Regions from separate parts of the Homo sapiens genome. Here region 2 is linked to region 1. The links are contacts of gene promoters, found by promoter capture Hi-C in blood cells and fetal thymus (Javierre and others, 2016). All regions are on one chromosome and are shown on one strand. Each heading gives the region's core, a stretch centred on a gene start or on the middle of the fragment in contact. The rest is flanking DNA. Distances are from core to core; before and after follow the strand shown.

What was found. Contacts are between HindIII fragments. The CHiCAGO score rates a contact against its expected background, and 5 or more counts as called.
Region 2: a fragment that was not itself captured here is called in contact with the fragment with the promoter of RWDD3 in region 1 in 3 of 17 cell types (naive CD8 T cells, non-activated CD4 T cells and naive CD4 T cells); the score reaches 7.3 in naive CD8 T cells.

What each region holds. Positions count from the first base shown.
Region 1 is chr1:95,232,002-95,237,441 of GRCh38, forward strand. RWDD3 (RWD domain containing 3) reads left to right here and starts at 2,209. Exons shown (of 4, transcript NM_015485.5): 1 at 2,209-2,314. The coding sequence starts at 2,230. All of the region lies in intron 7 of TLCD4-RWDD3 (TLCD4-RWDD3 readthrough), which reads left to right. It overlaps RWDD3-DT (RWDD3 divergent transcript), which reads right to left and starts at 1,981. Exons shown (of 4, transcript NR_125949.1): 1 at 1,699-1,981. RefSeq lists silencers at 1,950-2,279, 2,490-2,669. The HindIII fragment of the contact is 4,366 bases long and covers 1,204-5,440 here.
Region 2 is chr1:91,016,493-91,022,114 of GRCh38, forward strand. ZNF644 (zinc finger protein 644) reads right to left here and starts at 5,543. Exons shown (of 6, transcript NM_201269.3): 1 at 5,498-5,543. RefSeq lists enhancers at 4,800-5,349, 5,350-5,622 and silencers at 5,133-5,202, 5,533-5,622. The HindIII fragment of the contact is 702 bases long and covers 4,022-4,723 here.

The DNA.
Region 1 (5,440 bases), core at 959-3,458:
TCCTAATCCTTCCTACAGCTGTAATTTTGCTCTTCATGTTATTTCACTCATCTCACTTATAGTGAATTTGGAAAATTAAAAATAAGTAAAAACTATTTGAATATTTTATAGATTTTTTTTTGCTCTTGAGACGGAGTCTCGCTTGGTTGCCTAGGCTGGAGTGGTGCAAAGGTGCGATCTCGGCTCACTGCAACCTCCGCCTCCCGGGTTCAAGCGATTCTCCTGCCTCAGCCTCCTGAGTAGCTGGGATGATAGGTGCTTGCCACCACGCCCAGCTAAATTTTGTATTTTTAGTAGAGACAGCATTTCACCATGTTGGTCAGGCTGGTCCCGAACTCCTGACCTCAGGTGATCCACCCGCCTCGGCCTCCCAAAGTGCTGGGCTTACAGGCATGAGCCACTGCGCCCAGCCTATTTTATAGATTATTTTCAATAAATAAGTCAAAAACCAAATTGTTTGACTTTTCATAGTAACACTGGATTTCGAATTAAAATAACTTAGTAATATTTTAAATTAAAAACGTATTCTTTTGTTCAATCTCTTTAGCAGTTAATTATGAACCTACTGAACTGCTGGAACGTCTGTTATTTTGGAAATAAAGGAGTTTTTTTTTTCTTCAAGCCAATTGGCCATATCAGAGATAACTGCATTTAAATAAGCCTTCATCTTCCCAATTATGTGCTCCTAATTACTCGGGGTCACTGAAATCCCATGGCATCTTCTGAAAAGCATTTTCCCTGCAGTCCATCTTGTTAGGTTTCCTTTCTGTTCCGGGAAGCCAGTATCTTTTCCTTTATCAGATTCCTTTTTTACCAACAGCGGGAATGGTAATGGTGAATGGATGCAGGGTTTTAAAATCAGCCAACTTTGTTCTGACTTCCGTAGGTCAGTGACTGGAGTCACTGCCTAACAACCTAAATTCCCAGATTTATCTCATGAAATGTGATTTCTCATACAAACAAAAGTTGTGAGAACTCCATGAGCAAGACCAGCTGCTTGTGGGGACTGCCAAATTTTAAACTGTTATTTGAACAGCAAAAAGACCAGGCAAACATCCGAGAGACAGACCTAACTGCAGATAAGTCTTGTAATCTTGTTCACTATAGTCAAAACAGAATGGATTGCTTATTCTGTTACCCTATTGGTATTGCTCACATTTTAAAATTTAGGTGCTGGGCTCAAGAATGATAATTTTATTATTAAGCTTCAAGAGTCACATTGTATTGTATGCATTGAATATCACGAAATCGAAAACACTGAAAAGCTAGCGTTTACATTCTTGGATCATACCCCCAAAGGCCAAGGATTCCCACTGGCCGCTTGCAGCAGGGCTGTCTCCTGTGAAGGCAAGAGACAAACGAGGAGCGTTATGACACTTTGCTCCCAGGACTTTGGCGCACAGTTCCCATGAGTCCAGGTCCGTCCAGTCAACATCCTGAAGCCAGGACTGGCAGGTCCTGACCCTCCCTTTTTGCACCCGTAAGGGGAAGGGCCCGGGAATCTGGACCTTGTCTAGAGTCCCGGCGCCAGTACCAGTTCGGAGGGCATCCTGGAGGTTGTTACTAACCCGAGCCTCTTCCAGGCTTCCCAGGCACCAGGGTTGCTAACAGCTCCACGGGGGCGAATAATTTTGTTTATTTTGTTAACTGTGGTTATCTCCAACACTCAGTTCAGACCTGAGCCGGGCAAAGTCTCACCTTGTCTCCTGGTCACTTCCCTGCTTGTTTGTTTCTTCCTAACTCCCAAGTGTCTTTCGCCCAGTTCATCCCCACCTCAGCAGCCCAAGGCTCGGCGGGGACGGTCGGGGTTCGAAGCCTGCAGCTAAACTTAGAGGGTTCAGGCTTTGCTGGGAGGCCTCCCTGTGCTCAGAAGAGCCGGGGGTAAGCTGGGCGGTCGCCTTGGGTGCAGACAGAGGCGCAGGGCCTCGGCCTCCAAGAAAATTCCCAAACCGAGAGGCTGAGCTTCGCGTCTGTAGTTACTGAGCAGGAGCTTCTGGGCGGAACTTCTAAGGGCCCCGCCCGCCCCGTCTGCCCTGACCCTCGCCCGGACTCGCCTCGCCCACGTCCCGTTTCGCTTCGCCCCAGCTCCGTCTCGCCCCGCCCCCGTCCCGCCCGGTTGCGGAGGCGCGGGGCGCCCCCGGGTGGCCGCGGGCAGTGCTGCTCCTGGCCGGTGGAGGCGGCGGCTGCGGCAGCGGAAGGGGAAGCGCTGAGGCGGTGGGGCCCACAGCCATGGCGGAGCCTGTGCAGGAGGAGCTCTCGGTCCTGGCCGCGATTTTCTGCAGGCCCCACGAGTGGGAGGTGCTGAGCCGCTCAGGTGACTACCCGCGCGCGGGAGGGACAGGGCGCCCTCAGGGGCCACCCGCGTTCGCTTTGCGTCTCCTCCCCACCACGGAGCCTGGGCACCCCGCCTGGGCCCACGTATGGGGACCGGGTTAGTTGAATGATGGAATGACACGCCCGGAGGCCGGAGTGGTGTCGCAGCGGGCGGGAGTGTGAGGCGACCCCAGAAACACTAAGAGAGCGGCGCGGCCCACTGGGGCCTCTGCCGCCGGTCCCGCTCCCGGAGCCGGGGGCCCCTGCGTGCGCACCCCCAGGCCCTCCCCCAGCCTCCCACCCCTCAGATCTCACCCTATAAAGAAGCCTGTGCTGACGCCCCCTCGTTGTTCTGTGTCCTTCCTAAGCACTATGCCCTAGGCCCCCCCGAGAGCACTCCCCGGTTCTAACTCTACACGGGTATTTGTAGGTCTTAAGTTGCAGGAGGGCAGGGTCTGTTTGGTAATGACTCCAGGCACCTGGTAGGTAGTAGGTAAATGTTTGTTGACTGAACTTTTTCATTTATCCAGTGCTCAACCTCAACTTTATCTGCATTCTATTTCCAAGTTGATTGCTTTTCTGATACTTTTTTTTTTTTAGGTGGAGTCTCTCTTGTTGCCCTGGCTGGAGTGCAGTGGATCCATCTGGACTCACTGCAGCCTCCGCCTCCCGAGTAGCTGGGATCACAGGCGCGTGCCACCATGCCTGGCTGAATTTTATTTATTTTATTTTATTTATTTTTTATTTTTTAAGACGGAGTCTTGCTTTGTCGCCTAGGCTGGAGTGCAGTGGCGCGATCTCGGGTCACTGCAACCTCCGCCTCCCGGGTTCACGCCATTCTCCTGCCTCAGCCTCCCGAGTAGCTGGGACTACAGGCGCCCACCACCACGCCCGGCTAATTTTTTGTATTTTTTTTTTTAGTAGAGACAGGGTTTCACCGTGTTAGCCAGGATGGTCTCGATCTCCGGACCTCGTGGTCCGCCCGCCTCGGCCTCCGAAAGTGCTGGGATTACAGGCGTGAGCCACTGCGCCCGGCCTTTTTTTTTTTTTTTTTTTTTTTTTGAGACAGAGTCTTGTTCTGTCCCCCAGGCTGGAGTGCAGTGGCGCGATCTCGGCTCACTGCAAGCTCCACCTCCTGGGTTCACACCATTCTCCTGCCTCAGCCTCCCGAGTAGCTGGCACTACAGGCGCCTGCCACCATGACTGGCTAATTTTTTGTATTTTTAGTAGAGACGGGGTTTCACCATGTTGGCCAGGCTGGTCTCAATCTCCTGACCTCGTGATCCGCGCGTCTCGGCCTCCCAAGGTGCTGGGATTACAGGCGTGAGCCACAGGTGCCTGGCCTTCTGATACTTTTTTTTAAACAAGCTCTTGAGGGCTTTATTAGTCATTTAGCCCACATTTATTGAATCCCTGCTGCCTACAGACTTTGTCAGGGTTTCAGAGACACCGCTACCCATGGCCTCTAGGAGCTTACAGTGTAGAGAGGTTCTTTTGACTATTTTTTGATGATAGGTGAAACTTACTGTCCCTGTATGTGGCTTCTATTGAATAAAAAAAAAAGAAAAAACACTGCCATGTATGAGAAAGTGACTCAGTTTTCACTTAGCTTTCAGATACATTATGTACATGTTTGGGGCATGAGATTTATCGTTCTAATGTTATATTGTAGCTACCATTAAAATTGGCTTTCTGACCATAAATTGGTTAACCTTTAAGAAGGTAGTCTAGGCCTGGCGCGTGGCTCATGCCTGTAATCCCAGCACTTTGGGAGGCCGAGGCGGGCAGATCACCTGAGGTCAGGAGTTCAAGACCAGCCTGGCCAACATGGCGAAACCCCATCTCTACTAAAAATACAAAAATTAGCTGGGCATGGTGGCACACGCCTGTGATCCTTGCTACTCGGGAGGCTGAGGCAGGAGAATCACTTGAACCCGGGAGGCGGAGGTTGCAGTGAGCCAAGATCTCACCATTCATTGCACTGCAGCCTGGGTAACAAGAGTGAAACTCTGTCTCAGAAAAAAAAAAAAAAAGTAGTCTAAAAATGGGCTGGATGTTGTGAGAAAACCATTTAAGATTAAGATCCTTCATGATATCCATTGGGTGTGTTATTCACTGAAGGACAGGGAGTTGACTTCCATTTATTCCTTCTTGCATTCATCCACTCACATCCACTCATTGGGCACTGTTATGTTCCAGGCACTATGCACCTATTAGTGTAATGGAGTTGCTTTCTTTTTAGTGCCCAGCCTGACTTGTATCTTTTGAAACAATTGTTTAAAATCCATATGAAGGGGTTTACTCACTTTTAGTGTTTTCTTGTCATCCCTCTTCTGATTGGATAATTCTTCACCATCTCCCTCTCTGTCTCCACTGTTCTCTTTATTGATAATTACTTCTGCCTGAGGCAGCTATTTGAAGAGATCATCAGTTTTCCTAAATTCCTTTATTATGGCTCAGTTGGGAATATCCTGGAAAAATGAACCTGCAATTTCCCATCACACCTTAAAGAACTGGTAATGGTCTGGGTCATTAGTACACAGCTGAGCATAAAACACTGCTGAAGGGTCAGAGAAAACCCAAAAATGTAAGCATAGAAAGAAAACAGTTTCTTAATCTTGAGAACACTGTGAACCCTTTATCTGCTGTTAAATTGAGCATGACTTTCAAGCCATGCCTCCTAATTAGTTTAATTCCATGTTCTGGCATCAATAAGTAATTGAATTATAAAAGAATTCAGTGTAACAACTTAGGACATTTTGTTGCTGAGAGGTAGAATAATTCAGTGATTGAAATGGGGATGTTTGATGTTCACAAGTGGGAATTAAGGGGGTAAGGTAAAGGCCTTTTTTTTTTTTCCCATGATTTTCGTAACATCTTTTTACAAAGTAAGGACTTCTTTAACAGACCACAGTAAACATGCAGCAGACTGCTGGCTACCACTCACCATCACTGTCAGTTTGGGTTGGAGGATACACACTTGATACCAGAACACTCTAAACACTAGTTCTTTTCTGGCCTCCCCCAAATAAGGTTCTCCCTTTTGCCACTGGAATCAGGAGAATGTTGCAGAGGAATTGCATTCCTGGTAACAAGATAACCCAGCAAGACTCAGACTGCTAACCCA
Region 2 (5,622 bases), core at 3,123-5,622, 4.2 Mb before region 1:
CTGTTTAGTATTTGTGTATCTAAACATAGAACATAAAATACAGTAAAAATACAGTATTACAATCTTATGGGACCACCATCGTAAATGCAGTCCACTATTGACCAAAGAACATCATTATGCTGCACATGACTGTATTTAATATCTTCCTCAAGAAACTAATGAAAGAGATACTTTTAAGTAAAATATTAATCTTTTCAAAAAATTAGATAAAATAATTGATAGACTACAGGTAAACATGCTTTGTAAAGTGTAAAGAATTTTAATCAACACTTTATTAGGTATTTTTAATTTTCAGTTGTCTATTTGGCTCAAAATATACTTACGTTTCTAGAGTTTGAACAAAGTCTTTTTTATTTGAGACAGGGTCTCACTCTGTCACCCAGGCTAGAGTGCAGTGGCACGGCATCTCTGCTCACTGAAGCCTCTGCCTCCTGGGTTCAAGTGATTCTCCTGCCTCGGCCTCCCAAGTAGCTGGGACTACAGGCACGTGCCACCATGCCCAGCTAATTTTTGTATTTTTGGTAGAGACAGGGTTTCATCATGTTGACCAGGCTGGTCTCAAACTCCTGACCTCAAGTGATCCACCCACCTTGGCCTCCCAAAGTGCTGGGATTACAGGTGTGAGCCTCCACACCCGGCCTATATAAAGTATTTTAAAAGCTGTATTTTCAACTTAAAAAAAAGATACACATACCAAAAGGCTTAACACATAAAATCTGCCTTCATCACTCTAACCCAGCTTCAATTCTACCAAAATCTAGGCTAACAGAATTAAGCTTCAAGGAACAAATCATTTATCTTTATTTTTACTTACAAAATCTCAGTTCAAAGGATTCCAAATGAAATGGGAAGACCACAGCTAGCAGACAGAAGAGGTAGGGCCAAGATTAGTAGGAGAGGGGAAAGAAAATCTCCCAGAAACGCTAATCTTAATCCAGTCTCACTTTCTCCCAACCAAGAGAAGTGTGCACTGCTGCTACTTCTGCCCTGGCAGGCTCCTCCTCCTCTTACTCTTGAAATCCTCTGCTTTTTTCCTCCTGGAAAGTTACTCTCACAGGGCTGTTTTTCTTCCTAACATCTCTCAATTGTCAAAGGATTTCTTATCTTGAAATTAAAAGAATAAAAATATACTAACTTTCCATAATCACATAAGAGTTCCCAGGAAGTTCAAAAAGGATAGTAACTACTGCCAGGTGCGGTGGCTCACGCCTGTAATCCCAGCACTTTGGGAGGCCAAGGCGGGTGAATCACCTGAGGTCAGGAGTTCGAGACCAGCCTGGCCAACATGATGAAACCCCATCTCTACTAAAAATACAAACATTAGCCAGGTGTGGTGGCCGGCGCCCGTAATCCCAGCTACTTGAGAGGCTGAGACAGGAGAATCACTTGAACCTGAGAGGCAGAGGTTGCAGTGAGCCAAGATTGCACCACTGCACCCGCGCCTGGGAAACAGACCGAGACTCCGTCCCCCAACCAAAAAGAAAGAAAAAGAAAGGATAGTAACTCCATGGTTCAACTTGGCAGATCTGCAAAAAAAATTATAATGCAGCAACTAAGGCCTTAGAGACAAGAAAACACCTTTTTCATGGGAACTTCCTCTCCCTGAAGAAAGACAGAATTTAATTTAGAGTCTTACTACCCTCTGGGTCTCCTGTGATCTTCATGTTTGTTTCTTAAGGGGAAGAGGAGAAATCTTTTAGCCAACCAGCAGGGTGAGCTAGTGCTAGCATCAGTTCCATGATTCTCAAATCTCCCAAAACTCAATGGTGTAAACGGCTTGCACTATTAACAGCAGCTATTTATTTCCCTCTAATAAACCTGAATCAAAAACACCACTTCTAGAACTGCTTCAGTCAATGCTATACCTGACAACTTTACTCAATATTTACAGATTCTCCATATACGAAATAGACATTCTCTCTACCAGAAAGATTAATAAGTGTAAATAAAAGCTCATTTGAATATGTATCCATAGTATTACAGTATCCACTCTTCATTCTCGTTTTATTTTACAAGGTTACTAATTTAAAACATTTAGAAAACAGTTTAAAAAATGGTTAAAACAAGTGCTCTATAAAATCAGGGTTAGATAACTCAACATGCCAATTTCTCCATTTGCTGCAAGCTACAATTGTCTTAAGACCTGACTGAAAAGCCTTCCCAAGAATAAGATTCACTTTTCCTTCCAGAATCACATCCTGAGAAAATGGTCTAAATAAGTAACACTAAAAAACAATATTTAGGATGACAGAAAAAAAATGGACCTGACCTTTCTCTAGATTGCAGATATCCCACCACTTCTATTCTCTTTGAAACTTTCTTTTCTCCTCCTGCTACCCATTAACAGTCTCAATTCAACCAAAACACTCTTATAACTTGAATGACAAACTAAAACTGGAAAATGTTTAAGGTTGGCAGGTGACAGACCACTTTATAACTACAAATAACCTGAAAGTGACTCTAATTTTCACAAAATGAAAGTGTAAGTAAATCCACTCACATAATGTTGAAAATTATAAAACAGCTTATCAACTAACAAAAATCAGTAATTTAAAAGCACCTTATATGACCCATAAAAACTTTTAAAACCTTAAAACAATTTAACTTTTTGCTAAATCTGACATTCAAAGAAGTTAAAAATCACTATAGGGTTCCACCATAAATGACTGTCACTACTTGTTCAATTTCCTAACAGACCTTAGAGGTACCACTCAGTAGAAGTAGTAGTCTTAAAAAGTTGTTTTAAAGAAAGGGAACATTCTGAGTGGCACATTCGTTTATCCAACCAAAACACTATTACAAAATGAAAGACACCATTATTTTCAGCATTGATCTCATTTCTTTTCCTACATAATAACTGGCAATAACAGCAGTTATTTCAAACTTTCAAAGAAATTTATCAAGTCCCTGGTTGTTGTTTTTTAATTTTTCAATTTCTGGGTCAAGACTGCATTTGGAAAACCTTAAAATTCAAAAGCAACATTGCTCTGAAACTATCTGATATTTCTGTATTTTGTACCTGATTTTGTTTCACTGAAAGTCACTTTAAAAACCAAGTTAACCACAGAATATGAAAGTTTTTTTGTTTTTTTGTTTTGAGATGTAGTCTTGCTGTGTCACCAGACTGGAGTGCAGTGCCACGATCTCAGCTCTCTGCAACCTCTGCCTTCCGGGTTCAAGTGATTCTCCTGCCTCAGCCTCCCGAGTAGGTGGGACTATAGGCACCACCACGCCCAGGAAATTTTTACATTTTTAGTAGAGACGGGGTTTCACCATGTTAGCCAGGATGGTCTCGATCTCTTGACCTCGTGATCTGCTCGCCTCAGCCTCCCAAAGTGCTGGGATTACAGGCGTGAGCCACCGTGCCAGGCCAATATGAAAGTTTTTAACTTATTGTCACAGAAGTTCTCATGAACCTAACAATATTTAATTAACAAGTATTCTCAATAACATTCCCTTGTTTTTTTAACCATTAGTTGTAGATATTCACCTTCTCATCCCAGCAATATGACAAATACAAACAGCAATGGGTAGAGGCTGAAAGGCAATTTTCCATTATGCCACTAACTTAATCATCTCTGGTCCTCAATATATTGTAAAAGAGGAGGGTAAGAGCAGTTGTTCTTTGATATTGCTTCCACTGTAAAACTTTATGATCCAGGAATACATTTGCTAATGTTAATGCATCTCCTATTCATTAATACAAGACTGTTCTGTATTAGAAGCTAAAAAAAGAGAAAATATATATCTGAAAAGAACAAGGAAATGAAAGTTAACTAATGTTGAAAAATTCAAATTTCAGTTTGAACACAGAGATCTACACAGTGATCTAATGTGTTTAAATATCCCTCCAACCAAGGAATTCTGTTAATTGCCAACACAAAACATTAGGTGTTTCAAAATTTTGTACTTCATGAGTTAATACCAACACAAAGTATGATATAATTGCAGTATAACTTTAATTTGTTAGAAATTGTAAGACTTTTAAAAGCAATACATACCACTGCATTAATACTAATCAAGCTTTATGCTTCACCAATTAAAATGTCTAAGCTAGATTATAGCCTTATTATAAAAACGAGGTTTTTCTTAGCAAGCCTACCAAAATGCAATATTACTGCCATCAAGTTCCCTAGATACTTACACATGCAACTGAAGGCAAACAGCCAGGTTTCCTTTCTTTGAGAAACTTTAGTTGTCTATTTTTTGAAATGTTTTCCTTCTCATGGGACCAAAAAATGTTTACAACTAAAGCAAACTACTGCAGGGAGGGAATACACAATTAAAACAAATCTACCATCCAGATGCAACAAGCGTGGAATTAGGACTGGACAGGATAGTCGGCGGTGTTGTGATACTTCTGTTGAAATTATTAACAAGACAAGACCATCATTCGCCCCCAATTATGTTTATCCCCTCGTTGAGTTTGATGATCACACAAAATCTGAAGTCTAAATATAAACGTTTTTATATTCAAAGTCAATATTCAAGAAAACTTTTCCACTAATGTTGCTAAACCATAGATGGATCCCAACAAGAGTTGTCTGTAGAAGTCTCGTAACAAGTAACCTTTAGCTCCACCACCTAAGTTTCCAATCACTGAGAAGAGTCTGGGACAACTCATCTTCAGGTTCACGGGAGAAGTGGAGCACACCTGCTTTCCTCTGGCAGAGTAACTTCCCAGGGACACAAAGGCCAGAGAATCAGACCTGGAGAGGCAAAAAGCTTTAGCTGGACACCCACCAAGCCCCTGGCAACCCAAACACTTCGAGCGATTTACCTCTTGCTGTTACTTCCCAGGCACCTAGCCGCATAAGATCTTGCAGGACGGGGGGAGGGGAGGGCTATGCGGTCCTGTCCCAAGTAAGGGGAGGGGTGTAGACAGTTAATGCCAGAGCCAGCGTTTCTGGCCACAACCGAGCAGCCTCAACGAGAGGGGTTGGTGACTGCTCTCGGCCCGCCCCGTTACTCAGTGCATTGCAATGGCGACCGCCAGGCTCCCCAAGCCGCCTGATCTCGGCCCCTTCCCCCTACTGCTCACTGGCTGCTCGGCTTCATGTGACTAAACAAAACCCCCAAGTCTAGTGCCCAGCTCAGCCCCTTTGTGTCCGCTACCGGATCCTCCGACGCCGCAGCGGAAAGCCCCCCCCCCATCCCCCCGCCGAGTCCCGCCCCGCGGCGGCGGCCGCCGCTCACCTCAGGCTCCGTGGCCCCCAGCGACCGCCGCGGCCGCCGCCTCCCCGAACCCGGGGCCCGGGCTCCTTGTGTAGCACCAACTCCGCCTCCTCGGCCGCCGCCGCCATCTTAGCCTGTGCGGCAAAATGCGTCCTTTTGGATGGCTGGGACCCAGCCTAGGGCGTAGCTCCCCGGGCCCGAGAGCCGGAGGCCGGGTCCCCCAAGTTCTTCCGCCACCCTCAGTCCCGCCGCTGCCACAGCCCAGAGGCCCGAAACCCACTCGGGTCCCAGCGAATCTGACCAAATAACCCCTGAAACTCACAGTTTGGTGCCGTGTGCGTCAAACCGGGGCGACGTTGGGAGCACGCGGCGTCCCCGCGTCACACGCCGCTCTGTACGCTACTCGGCTCCAGCGGCCCCCCTCCGCTCCCCGCTTTTCGCCTCCAG